Regions from separate parts of the Homo sapiens genome. Here regions 1, 2 and 4 are each linked to region 3. Evidence: promoter capture Hi-C in human tissues and cell types (Jung and others, 2019). All regions are on one chromosome and are shown on one strand. Each heading gives the region's core, a stretch centred on a gene start or on the middle of the fragment in contact. The rest is flanking DNA. Distances are from core to core; before and after follow the strand shown. Region 1 has its middle 120 kb from the start of IQSEC1. Region 2 has its middle 84 kb from the start of IQSEC1. Region 3 holds the start of HDAC11 (histone deacetylase 11). Region 4 overlaps WNT7A (Wnt family member 7A).

Region 1 (2,700 bases), core at 168-2,667, 280 kb before region 3:
GGTGCCAGCCCATAGTCTCAGCTAGGTCCCAAGAGGATGCCAACATCGACCGAGACACGTTAGTGACAGAGCCTTCAGGTGACCCCAGCCCAGCCATCCAGGCACCTGAAGCCTCTGAGTCTTCTTCCAGCTGGTGCCGCAGACGTTGTGGAGCAGAGGCAAGCCATCCTGACCTCAGAGACAAGGAAAGGTAACGCATGAAGCCTGCTGTTCTACACCACTAAGGTTTGGCAAGCTTTGTTCCCCAAGGTGCACATTTCCTTCCTCCTCAACCGAGGGCTCAATGTGGCTTCCTTCCTGAGCGCCTCTGAGACAGGCTCCTGTCACTGCAGCATTTCCCAGGCTGCTTGCCCTGCACGTCTGGCTGTCACTCAGCCCCATCTCCTGGAGAACAGGCCACAGGGAGGGCTGCGTGAGCAGCCTGCCAAGTCTCCCTGCTTCTTTCCCAATGAGAAGAACACACGTTTCTGATTCCCTTTGCAAATGAAAGGTAAATCTTTCAGTGAATGAATAATGAATATCCCTGGCATGCGCGTGCGTGTGTATGTACATGTGTGTGCGTGTGTGTGTGTGTGTGTGTGTGTGTGTGTGTGTGTGTGTGGTGGGGAGCAGGCTGGAGAGCCCATCCCAGGAAGTCCAGAAAGAAGCAGCCGCAGGGGCTCTATTCCTTGTCTCTCAGGCCACACAGGCTTGTCCCAAGTCAGGGGGAGCAGGAGAGTCTGTGGGATCCGGGTGGGGGTGTCACCGGGCAGCAGACCCAGCTCAGAGGCAGGAAGGGTGTTCTCTGAGGCAGGATGCGTAGGGAGAGTTGAGGAGGGCTGCAGTTAAGACCCTTGCCACGACACTGCCTCCACCTGGAGGCCCCTGTGCCCTGGGACACTGTGGACCATAGACCAAGACAGCAAGGACATCAAAGGCTACCTCCTCTTGGGACTGTGTAGCTTTGTCTGCCTCTCCAGGAGCCTGAAGACATCTGAACAGATATCCCCTACGGAAGGTCAGGGATGCACATGAACCATGTCTTCCTTCACTTGAACGGGAAACGCTTGCTCCCTGCACACATTTTTTAAAAATCAACATTTGCAGCCCCCAAGCGCCCACAACAGCGGGAAAGAGGCATCTTCATAAACGGCAGATGCATGGCCAGGGGCGCTGGAGGGTGGGGTGCTCCCTGCCCCACTGGGGCTGAGCTGGACAGGCACTGAGTTCCCAGCCTGGCAGACAGGACGTGCTGGTGCCCGGCCCCATCCTGAAGTGTCCCAGCAGCCAACACTCATCACCAGGCCAGCTGCAGGGCAGGCCACTCTCCACAAGGCTACAGGGACTGGGGGCCTCAAATGTCCCCCACAGGCTGCATAATGACCAGGGCCCCTACGACCAAGCTGCCCGCCCTATTCAGCAGCATCTTGACAGAGTCCAGACCCAGGCCCTGATAACTTCACGGCCGCATGCAGTAGTCGCTAGTCAGCATCCCACCTTACGACCAGCAGAGTGGTTCAGGGAGGTGCACAGGCCAGGCATGGGTGGGGCATCAACATTGCAAGCTGGTAGGGAAGTGTGCCCCGTTCACAGGTGGGCACACTGAGGTCCAGAGAGGCCAAGGAAGATAGTCAAGGCCGAATTAGGCTTTAGTACAGGCTGGACATGAGCTAGGTGGGAGCGAGTCCCCCAGCCAGCGGGAAGAAAAACCCTGGTCTTGGAGGGCCTGAGTGGCCTGCCCAAGGCTGCCCAGCAGGAGCGGAGCGTGGTGCCCGCGGCTTGGATGTGTGTGCACAGCGTGCACCCGGCCTCCCGAGGCCTCTCTGTGGAGAGGACTATGCCCTGTGGCCCCGGGGCAGGGCTTAGACTCTGTGGGCACGCAGGGTCTGAAAGGACAGAGATGATGACCCTTGCCTGGAGGAGAATTGTGTGAAGAGGTGCTGAGCTCAGGCCACGTGGCCTGTTTTCTCTAATTCTAACAATTTCTGCTCATGCCCCACAGAGGACCCCTATAATTTAGTCCTACGGTCAACAAGCTCATCCAGACATTAAAAGGTAATTTACTTTCTGCTTCTCCTGCTTGTTATGGCCCATTTGTGGGCTTTTTTCTCCCAAAAGCATAAGCCTTGCAACCATGTAAACACAAAATATTTAAAGAGTAATTCTGAAGCTTGGGATGGCCGTGGGCTGTCCCCCTGGAGGTTCTGGGTGGCTCATCTGAAGAGTGCATACCGCGCCTAGAGATCCAGTCTGAGAACTCACCAACCAGGGTAGGCGGGGGGCAGGAAGGGGCTCCACCCAGAGTGAGATGCAGATTTCACGCAGCTCAGCTCCTAGGCGGTGATGACCGCTGGAATGTCCTGCCACCACCAAGAGTCCTGTGCATGACACTCTGGGTGGCACAGGGAAATGCACATGTTCTGAGTTTGGCTTGGTGGTGACCTACAGCCGGGATCATACCACAGCCAACTGCCTTTGAATTCCAGCTCTCATGCCGGCTGGCTGCGTCCTCTTACACACCATGTGACCATGGGCAAGGCACTGCCATGTCTTAGCCTGTGTTTCTCCACCACAAGAAGAGGCTAAGCCTCCACCCAAAGCACCCAACACAGCAAGGCACGTGGGAGCTGAAGCCAGTGCCTGCTGGAGCTCATGCCCTTGGAGTGAGGAGTTATTATTCTGCTGAAGAAAAGCAGAATCCCACACTTTCTGTTCCTGGGA
Region 2 (2,700 bases), core at 55-2,554, 320 kb before region 3:
AAAATAAAAATTAAAAATAAAATAAATAAAATAAAAACACTAAACAAAATAGGAATGGAAAGAAACTACCTCAACATAATGAAGACCATATACAAAAAATCCACAGCTAACATCATACTCAGCAGTGAAAGACTGAAAGCTTTTTAGCTAAGATCAGGAACAAGACAAGGATGTCATTTTTGTCATTTGGGCTCAACATAGTATTGGAAGTCCTAGATAGGCAATTAGGAAAGAGAAAGAAGTGCATGATGGAGGGACAGAAGTGGGAGCATTCAGGCATGTGGACAGACAAGCTTAGCACATTTAGCTCTGGCCTCCTTCCAGAGGTGCTCCCCTTGGATGTGGGAAGTGGCAAGTACAGAGACCAAAATAGCATGCTGTGCCAGGGCACATGGCAGAGCACTGAGGCACAGCACTGCATAAGACAAAGTTCCTGCTGACATTCCAGTGGGGACAGGCAGATAAGGGACAGAAGTAAACTGGCTGATGTGCAGAGATTGGCTAGGTTACTTCAGGTGAGATGATAAGGGAAGAGGAGCTGACATCTGAAGGGGGATTGGACTGAGGAGAACTCATCTTGGGTGAGACCTGGGGGAGCATGTTCTAGGCTGAGGGAACAGCACAGGCAAAGGCCCTGGGACACTAATGAGCTTGGAAGAATGGAGGTACCAGAAGGCCAGAGTGTGATGACCACAGTGATGGAGGAGAGAATGGAGAGTCAGATGTGGACAAGATCAAGAAAACTCTTGATGTTTTCATTTCCATTTGAGATAAGGACACTGAGGCTCAGGGAATTTGAGTCATTTGACCAAGGTCATTCAGCTTAGACCCTGGTTTCAAAGTCCTCACTGTCCCAAACACTGGACCTGGGTCAGATGCACACATACACATTGTGTCACCACCTTCTAAGTACCTTTAAGATTTGGTTGCAATAGAAGCAGATGTTTAGACAAGGCTTACCAAATGTATTTTGGGATTTAGTCTAATTCCCCATTAGTAGACTCCCTTGCCCCCACACCAATATCTCTGCCTCATCTTCTAAACAGTCAGTTATTAATTCTCTACACAAGTTCACAGAAAACAAATCAAAACGCAAAATACACCCAGTCAGATAGGTTTTTGCCCAGTGACTTCAATGTGGCTCCTATAAGATCTTTCTACTTCCCGTGTAAAGAAAGGCCCAGTAGTGCCTCTGAAAGCAGGCTGAGGGTATCCAGAGGCCATTCAAGGGTCTCAGGGACCCACAATTCATAGGCCACACAGCAGAATGAACACAGCTGAAGAAAGCACTAGTGAACTAGAAGACCATCCTGAGGAAATTGCTCAGGATACAGCACAGAGTCAAGGAGATGGAAAAGTAAAGTCCACCACAGTCAAGAATGCCCAAGAAATCTCAATCATAAACCCAGGGGAGCAAAGGAAGGAAGGAGGACAGCCAAAAGGGCACACTCTACAAGCAGCTGCTACCACCTCCTGCTCATGTAAACATGGGCTTGCCTCAGACCCTCCCTCAGGATTCTGAGCAGCCGCGTCTCCACAGACTGTGGCAGAGGGAGAAGAAAGGAAATGGATGTTAACTGAATGCTATGACATGGCATGTGCTGTTCCATCTATGCCTCATTTAATTGGTCCATGGCCTTGAGGCTAAAGTCTTTGCTCCGATTTCATCATGGGGCAGAAATTAACTGTATCTCATTGGTCTTCACACCCTTAGTAGTTAGCACAAAGACACAGTAGGTGCTCAATGAAGACTGTTAAATGAGTGTGAAATCTGAGGCTTGGAGAGCTCAGGGGCTGTTGCATAGTGACATGAGGGTAAGACAAAGAGAAAGGATTTGAATTCAAGATTATCTGCCCCCAGTGTCTGTACTCTTTTGATTCCACCGTGCTAAGAAATGTCCACTCGCCTCCAGAGGCCGCCGGCTCAGCCCTCAGTCCAGCACCTCCAAAACATGGCTGGATAGCGGCAGAGGGACCCGGCCCAGCCCCAGCCCGTCTCTCACATTTGGAGCCTGCTCCCATTCCTTCCTGGAGAGAAAGAGTTCAGCTCTGTCTACCTGGCACAGCAAACACTCCCAGCTTTGTCTGCCACGTTCAGCAGTTTTCATACCTCCTTGTGAACAAAATAAACTGTGTGTTCTCATTTTGGGTTTGGGGAAAAAGGCCCAGTTAATTACAAAGGCTGCTTTGCCTTGGTATGGAGACAGAAAACTGGATTTGTTTGGACTAATTACGTTTACTCACACATCTTGGTTCCAGCTGAGTCAATGCTGGTAACCAGGCCCACCGTCTCCAGAATCTCCCCCACCATCCCCAAACAAAACAGTCCTTGGGCTCTCCTCATTGTCCCAGCCCTGAGCCTTGCTGTTGCCTTTGGAAAATGCCAGTCAACGTTCAGAGTCCTGACGGGGAGGCGACCTACATGGGACCACCTCATGCAATATGCTTCTAAGGTCAGGGCTGGGCGTGGTAATCCCAGCACTTTAGGAGTCCGAGACAGGCAGATCACTTGAGCCCAGGAGTTCAAGTTCAGCCTGGGCATCATGACAAAACCCTGTCTCTACTAAAAATACAAAAATTAGCCAAGCGTGGTGGTGTGCGCCTGTAGTCCCAGCCACTCAGGAGGCTGAGGCACGAGAATCGCTGGAACCCAGGAGGCGGAGGTTGCAGTGAGCTGAGATCACACCACTGCATTCCAGC
Region 3 (2,700 bases), core at 179-2,678:
CCAGAACTTCATTTTCTTCCTTTTTTTTTTTTTTGAGATGGAGTCTCACTCTTGTCGCCCAGGCTGGATTGCAATGGCGCGGCCTCACCGCAACCTCCCCTCCCCGGTTCAAGCGATTCTCCTGCCCCAGCCTCCCGAGTAGCTGGGATTACAGGCGCCCTTCATCACGCCCAGCTAATTTTTTGTATTTTTAGTAGAGACGGGGTTTCACCATGTTGGTCAGGATGGTCTCGAACTCCTGACCTCAGGTGATTCACCCGCCTCGGCCTCCCAAAGTGCTGGGATTACAGGCGTGAGCCACCGCACCCGGCCCAGTACTTCATTTTCAGATGCAGACATGAAGGACCAGAAGGCTGAAGCAACCTGCCCAAAGCCACTATGCTGGCGGGTGGCCGAGTTTGGGTTTAATCCAGGCCCGAACCTCAGTTCCCTCAAGATAAAGTTGGGGTGATTATGGCACCTTTCTCAGGATTAGGTTGTGAGGCTCAGATGCCATCATGCAATCATGGCAGGCACACGGGGGCCCCTCTTCAAACGTCTGTGCGCTTCCCTTGTGCCCCGCCCTGGCACACAGCCGCCCCCGCGGAGCCCAGGGATCCCAGCCCGGCAGTCCTCCGTCAGCTGCTTCTGTTTGGATGGCGGGGACGGCTGGGCCGACAGAGAGGCCCATTGTCTCCGTCCTCTGGGGCTCTATTGTTGGGGCCTCCTCCTGGGTTGCAGCCCCACGGACAACCCCAGCTGTCGCTTGGGCCTGGCTCAGCTTACCCCGGCGGTGAGGGTGCGGGTCGGGGACGGAGACGCGTGCACCCTGAAGACAGTAACTAGGCCTGCTCTACAGAGGGAAACGCAGGCTCTGAGAGCCTACATGTCTTCGCCGGGAGTGCTTGTCCCGGAGCTGCTCGCAGACTGGGCCGGGGGTGGGCTCGGGTCGGAGAGGTCACGGGGCTCCTTAGGTCACAGGCGGCAGGGCCAGAGAAACTCCCCCGCCCCTACGTTTAACTCGCGGAAACAAGGGCCCAGAGAGCCCAGACGCCAGCCCAAGGTCACACAGCGAAGCCCCGGCACAGCCCGCCGGGAACCTGTCGTTTCTAACCCCCAGCCTCTCGCCGTTTCTACCCAGCTTGGGAAGCGCAGGAACAGGACATACGGTGGTCGCGCCCCTTCCGCGAGGCCGGGGTGAAACCCGCTTGGCCCTCCCGCCAGGGGGCGGAGCTTCCGAACCAGGCGGGATTCCACCGGGTATTTGCCTGCGGAGGCGGGACTTCGGGCTTGATGGGCGTTGGGGGTGGCCTTCCTGCGGGCAGGCTCTCTGTGTCGCAACACTGGCGGGGCGGGCCAAATCGGCCAGAGCTCTGCCCCCAGAGGACGCGGCTAAGCCCGGGGGCGTGTCCTGGGCTGGCCCCACCCGCGCCCCGCCCCGCCCCGCCCGGTCGCGGAGCTGCGGCCAGCTTTGGGAGGGCCGGCCCCGGGATGTGAGTGCCGCGGGGCGAGGGCGGGGGTGGGCTCCCAGGGGTCCCGGTGGGCGGGCGCGCTAGGGCGAGGGCGGGGACGGCCGGGCGGGCGCGCCAGGTAAGGGCCCAGATTTGCTGGTGAGGGGTGAGGGACGCTCGGGACGGGTGTTTCCAGGCCCTCCCGGCGCGCCAGGCCAGCCCCGCGCCCCTGCTCGGTGGCCCGAGGGACGCGCGCCGGCCGCGGGCCTGGGCCCGGACCCGGAGCGGTCGGGCGATGTGCGCGGGTCTGACGTCTGCGCTGCCCAGCCCCCTGGCTACGCGGACGCCCCCACGGAGGCAGCCACTGGGGCGGATTTCTGTCTCTGGGTGACGACTGCCAGGGTGTGATGGGAAGGGTTAGCAGCGCAGCGGGGTCAGGGGATCCCCGCCCCCCGCCCTGGCTCAGGTTGGGTCCCGACTTGGGTTTCTGAGTGCTTACTGTGCTCAGCTCCTCAGTTGCATTCTCTGAGTCCTCACAACAGCCACACATTTTGCAGCCGAAGCCTTGTGCCACACAGCTGTGGGGGCATTTATTACGGTGCAGAGGTGATGCGCGGAGGCCTTGCAGCCAGACACACCTGAGTGCACGCCTGCTTCTCCACAGACCTGCACTGTGACCTTGGGCACACCTGGTCTGCTCTCTGAGCCTCTGGTGCGATTGTGGTGCCTACCCCCAGGGCTGCTGTGAGGACTGGATTGGAATTGGGTTCCGGGAAAGGCAGCCAGTTTAAGCAGCTGTTGTTGAGGGGCCCTTGTCTGCGGCTGAGGGGCTAGTGGTGCTGGGCAATGGCTGGTGGGTCAGTCCAGGCGGGCTCGGGAGGGAGCTGCTTTCTGCCGAGGCTGCCCCAGCTGTGCGTCTGTCTTTTTCCACACGGTAGGCTACACACAACCCAGCTGTACCAGCATGTGCCAGAGACACGCTGGCCAATCGTGTACTCGCCGCGCTACAACATCACCTTCATGGGCCTGGAGAAGCTGCATCCCTTTGATGCCGGAAAATGGGGCAAAGTGATCAATTTCCTAAAAGGTATGGAAGGTCCCCCTTGGACTCTCATCTGCTTCCTCCAACCCACCTGTCCTCTCCGTCCTCATCCCCAACATAAGCCTCAGGCTCTCTCCCATCTTCAGTTTCAGCCCTCGGATGGCCTTCCACCCATGCTTCCGCCCAAAATGATTTTTCCAACACAGACTCCTAATCACGATATGATGT
Region 4 (2,700 bases), core at 175-2,674, 350 kb after region 3:
TCACACAGTCAGGAAGCATGGAACTGGTATTGGAGTCCAGCAATCTGGCTGTAGAGCTGTAATGTGGCCGAACAGAAGGAAGGTGGGTGGGCTAGGATGGCCTTGCTCCCTCGGTGATGGTCACTTGGGCTGGCTTGTGTAGTGGACACTGTCGCATGCCACTGGGATCTGTCCTTCAGGACCAGACACTCCCTCTGCAGCTGCTGGGAGTGTTGCTGCTGATGGCTAGCAGCTGAGTTCCTCCCTAGGCACTGCCCTCCCCTGATGGGAGCTGTCTCACCCAAGACCACTCCCCCTCCCTGGGCAGCCCCCCAGCCAAAGACTGGTTGGTGCTGGGTACAAAGGCCCATCTCCCTGCCTCCATGGGGCTAACCCAGCTCCAGGTTTCTCATGGGACCAGCATAAGTCCCTGTGGCTGCTGCATCACTGGCCAACTTCTCTCGATGCCCAGGGCTGCCTTCCTCACTGCCTTATAGGTGTATCTCCCCAGAGTCCCGCCCAGGACCTGTCCTGCTTGCAAATGTCCAAACCAGGGACCCTTTCCAAGGCACTGAATAAAGACAACGTGGAGGTCAGCGGGCAGGCAGCCTTGGACCCCCAACCCCGGGAGACAATAAGTGTGGATACCCACACCAGGATAGGTGCTACAGGCTCCCATCCAGAGCTGCCACCACCTGCTCCCCTCCTGTTCCTGCTCCTGCTTCTCCTGCTCCTGATGATATTCCTCCTCCTCCTCCCCCTCTTCCTCCTCCTCAGGCTCCTCCTGCTCCCCCTCCTCCTCCTCAAGATCCTCCTGCTCTTCCTCCTGCTCCTCCTTCTCCTTCTCTTGCTCTTCATGCTCCTCCTTCTCCCCCTCCTCCTCCTCTTGCTCCCATCCTCCTGCTCCTCCTCTTCCTCTGCAGGCTCCTCCTCCTCTACAGGCTTCTCCTTCTTCCCAAGCTTCTCCTACTCTTCCTCCTTCTGCTCCTCATCCTCCACAGGCTCCTCCCACTCCTCCTCCTCTACAGGCTCCTCCCACTCTTCCTTCTCACAGGCTCCTCCTCTTTCTCAAGCTTCTCCTTCTTCCCAAGCTTCTCCTGCTCTTCCTCCTCCTCCCCCTCCTCAGGCTCCTCCTACTCTTTCTCCTGCTCTTCCTCCTCCTTCTCAGTCTCCTCCTGCTCCTCCTCTCCCTCCCCATGTCGATCCATCTTAGCAGAAAGCTGCATTTCAGCCAGCTGCAGCTGTATACCTCTGGGCGACTCAGATGAAAGAGCAGAAAAAATGGCTTTTTTTTTTTTCTGTAAACATTTGAGGTATTTTCTTTTTGGTGCATTCTTTAAGTCATTCTGGATGCACTGACTTCAAGCAAATATTCCTGCCTGACATGGAGGGGATGGCAGGGAAAAGGTGCACCCCATAGGACAGGGCCCCTGGAATGCAGCCTGGGAGGTACAGGAAGAGAGGTTTCCACTCAAGCCAGAGAGAGGTTTTCTGGTCTATACTGGGGGCCTTCTGAAACTCAGTGTTTGCCAGGTTACAACTGCTTAGATGCTGTCTATGGCTCCTGAGGTTAAAGCCCAGATTCCTCTGCCTGGCTTTCAAGACCCTCCATGAACTGGTCTCTGCCCAACTTTGGGGTATCTTAGGAGCCCGAGAACTGTGGACACACAGCCCCTCACCCCAGATTCATCTCTTTCTAGGCTCCTACCCCCCCAGTAACCTGTGTGGCCTGCACACAGTCACATCCCACCATGTGCTCACACATACACAACCTCCCCAGGCATGGCCCCATGCAACCCCCCACAGGCTCACACCCTCACACTCATCAGCACACTCAAAGCACACACTCTTACGCCTGTGCGCACACTCACACACTCCCTCACAGGTATGCATGACACATATGCTCACACACAGGTGCTTCTCATGCCGTCCATCCCTACACAACATATGCACAGATAGCCCTTCACACACAGTCCTGCCCACATACTTCCCGGCACACAAGCGCACACACACACACCCTCAAACATGAAGGGAGCCCATATGGTGGTGGCTAGCAGATGGACCCACTGCACACTGGCATGGGGGGCCTGGGGCCAGGTCTCAGCTTTGCTCCCCTGTAAACTGGGGCATTTAAAGTAGCAAACCCATTTGGAGGTGGAATAGTCGAGCCCCACACAGTGCAGCACCACACAGTGCAGCCTCTCCTAGATGCATTCTGGGTGCCTCTCTCTCATAAGTGACCTCCCTGCAGGCTGCTAGGTTGACTACGGGGCAGGGGTTGCCTTGGGCAGGCCTGTCCCAGAGTCTAGGTTAGTGGGGACTGTGGCCTGTGACCTGGGGTGAGGCAATTGGGTAACCCCAACCACAGCGTGAGGGGCAGGGAGGCTGACAGCGGGGACATGGAGCCACTGAACCTATGTGCTTCTCCCAACTGCTGGAGCACCCTGAAATGGCCTTGGCAGTCAGTCATACATTCACTTATTCATTCATCCACTCATTCACCTTTCCACCACACGCTAACTTAATCCCTTCCCTGGCCAGGCGCTGAGGTTGGTGGCCAGGTGGGCAGAAAGAGGCAAGCCCCTGACTCCCTTGAAGCTTAAGCTCTGGAGGGGGAGGTGGCTGTGCTGTCAACTGTCACACGGGCATAAGGCTGATACCAGCTTCCACCAATGGTGGCCCTGAAGGAAAGCGCAAACTTGCTCCCGTTCCTGTGGTCAC

What was found. The method cuts DNA at HindIII sites, captures the fragments that hold promoters and counts their contacts. A contact is called where the count stands out against the background at its distance.
Region 1: a fragment that was not itself captured here is called in contact with the fragment with the promoter of HDAC11 in region 3 in 3 of the 25 tissues and cell types used here (H1 embryonic stem cells, adrenal gland and spleen).
Region 2: a contact is called between a fragment that was not itself captured here and the fragment with the promoter of HDAC11 in region 3, in 1 of the 25 tissues and cell types used here (dorsolateral prefrontal cortex).
Region 4: a fragment that was not itself captured here is called in contact with the fragment with the promoter of HDAC11 in region 3 in 1 of the 25 tissues and cell types used here (H1 embryonic stem cells).

The regions. Positions count from the first base shown.
Region 1 is chr3:13,196,190-13,198,889 of GRCh38, forward strand. It overlaps a transcript of IQSEC1 not described here. Among named protein-coding and RNA genes, the nearest start is that of IQSEC1, 120 kb to the left of the region's middle. RefSeq lists an enhancer at 1,592-2,212. The HindIII fragment of the contact is 4,879 bases long and covers 1-2,700 here.
Region 2 is chr3:13,156,235-13,158,934 of GRCh38, forward strand. It overlaps a transcript of IQSEC1 not described here. Among named protein-coding and RNA genes, the nearest start is that of IQSEC1, 84 kb to the left of the region's middle. The HindIII fragment of the contact is 3,739 bases long and covers 1-2,700 here.
Region 3 is chr3:13,478,878-13,481,577 of GRCh38, forward strand. It overlaps HDAC11 (histone deacetylase 11), which reads left to right and starts at 1,429. Exons shown (of 10, transcript NM_024827.4): 1 at 1,429-1,472; 2 at 2,369-2,517. The coding sequence starts at 1,471. HDAC11-AS1 (HDAC11 antisense RNA 1) reads right to left here and starts at 1,176. Exons shown (of 2, transcript NR_046690.1): 1 at 766-1,176. RefSeq lists enhancers at 785-844, 1,494-2,150 and a silencer at 1,305-1,794. The HindIII fragment of the contact is 10,065 bases long and covers 1-2,700 here.
Region 4 is chr3:13,831,389-13,834,088 of GRCh38, forward strand. All of the region lies in intron 3 of WNT7A (Wnt family member 7A), which reads right to left. Among named protein-coding and RNA genes, the nearest start is that of WNT7A, 47 kb to the right of the region's middle. RefSeq lists an enhancer at 2,156-2,656. The HindIII fragment of the contact is 4,838 bases long and covers 1-2,700 here.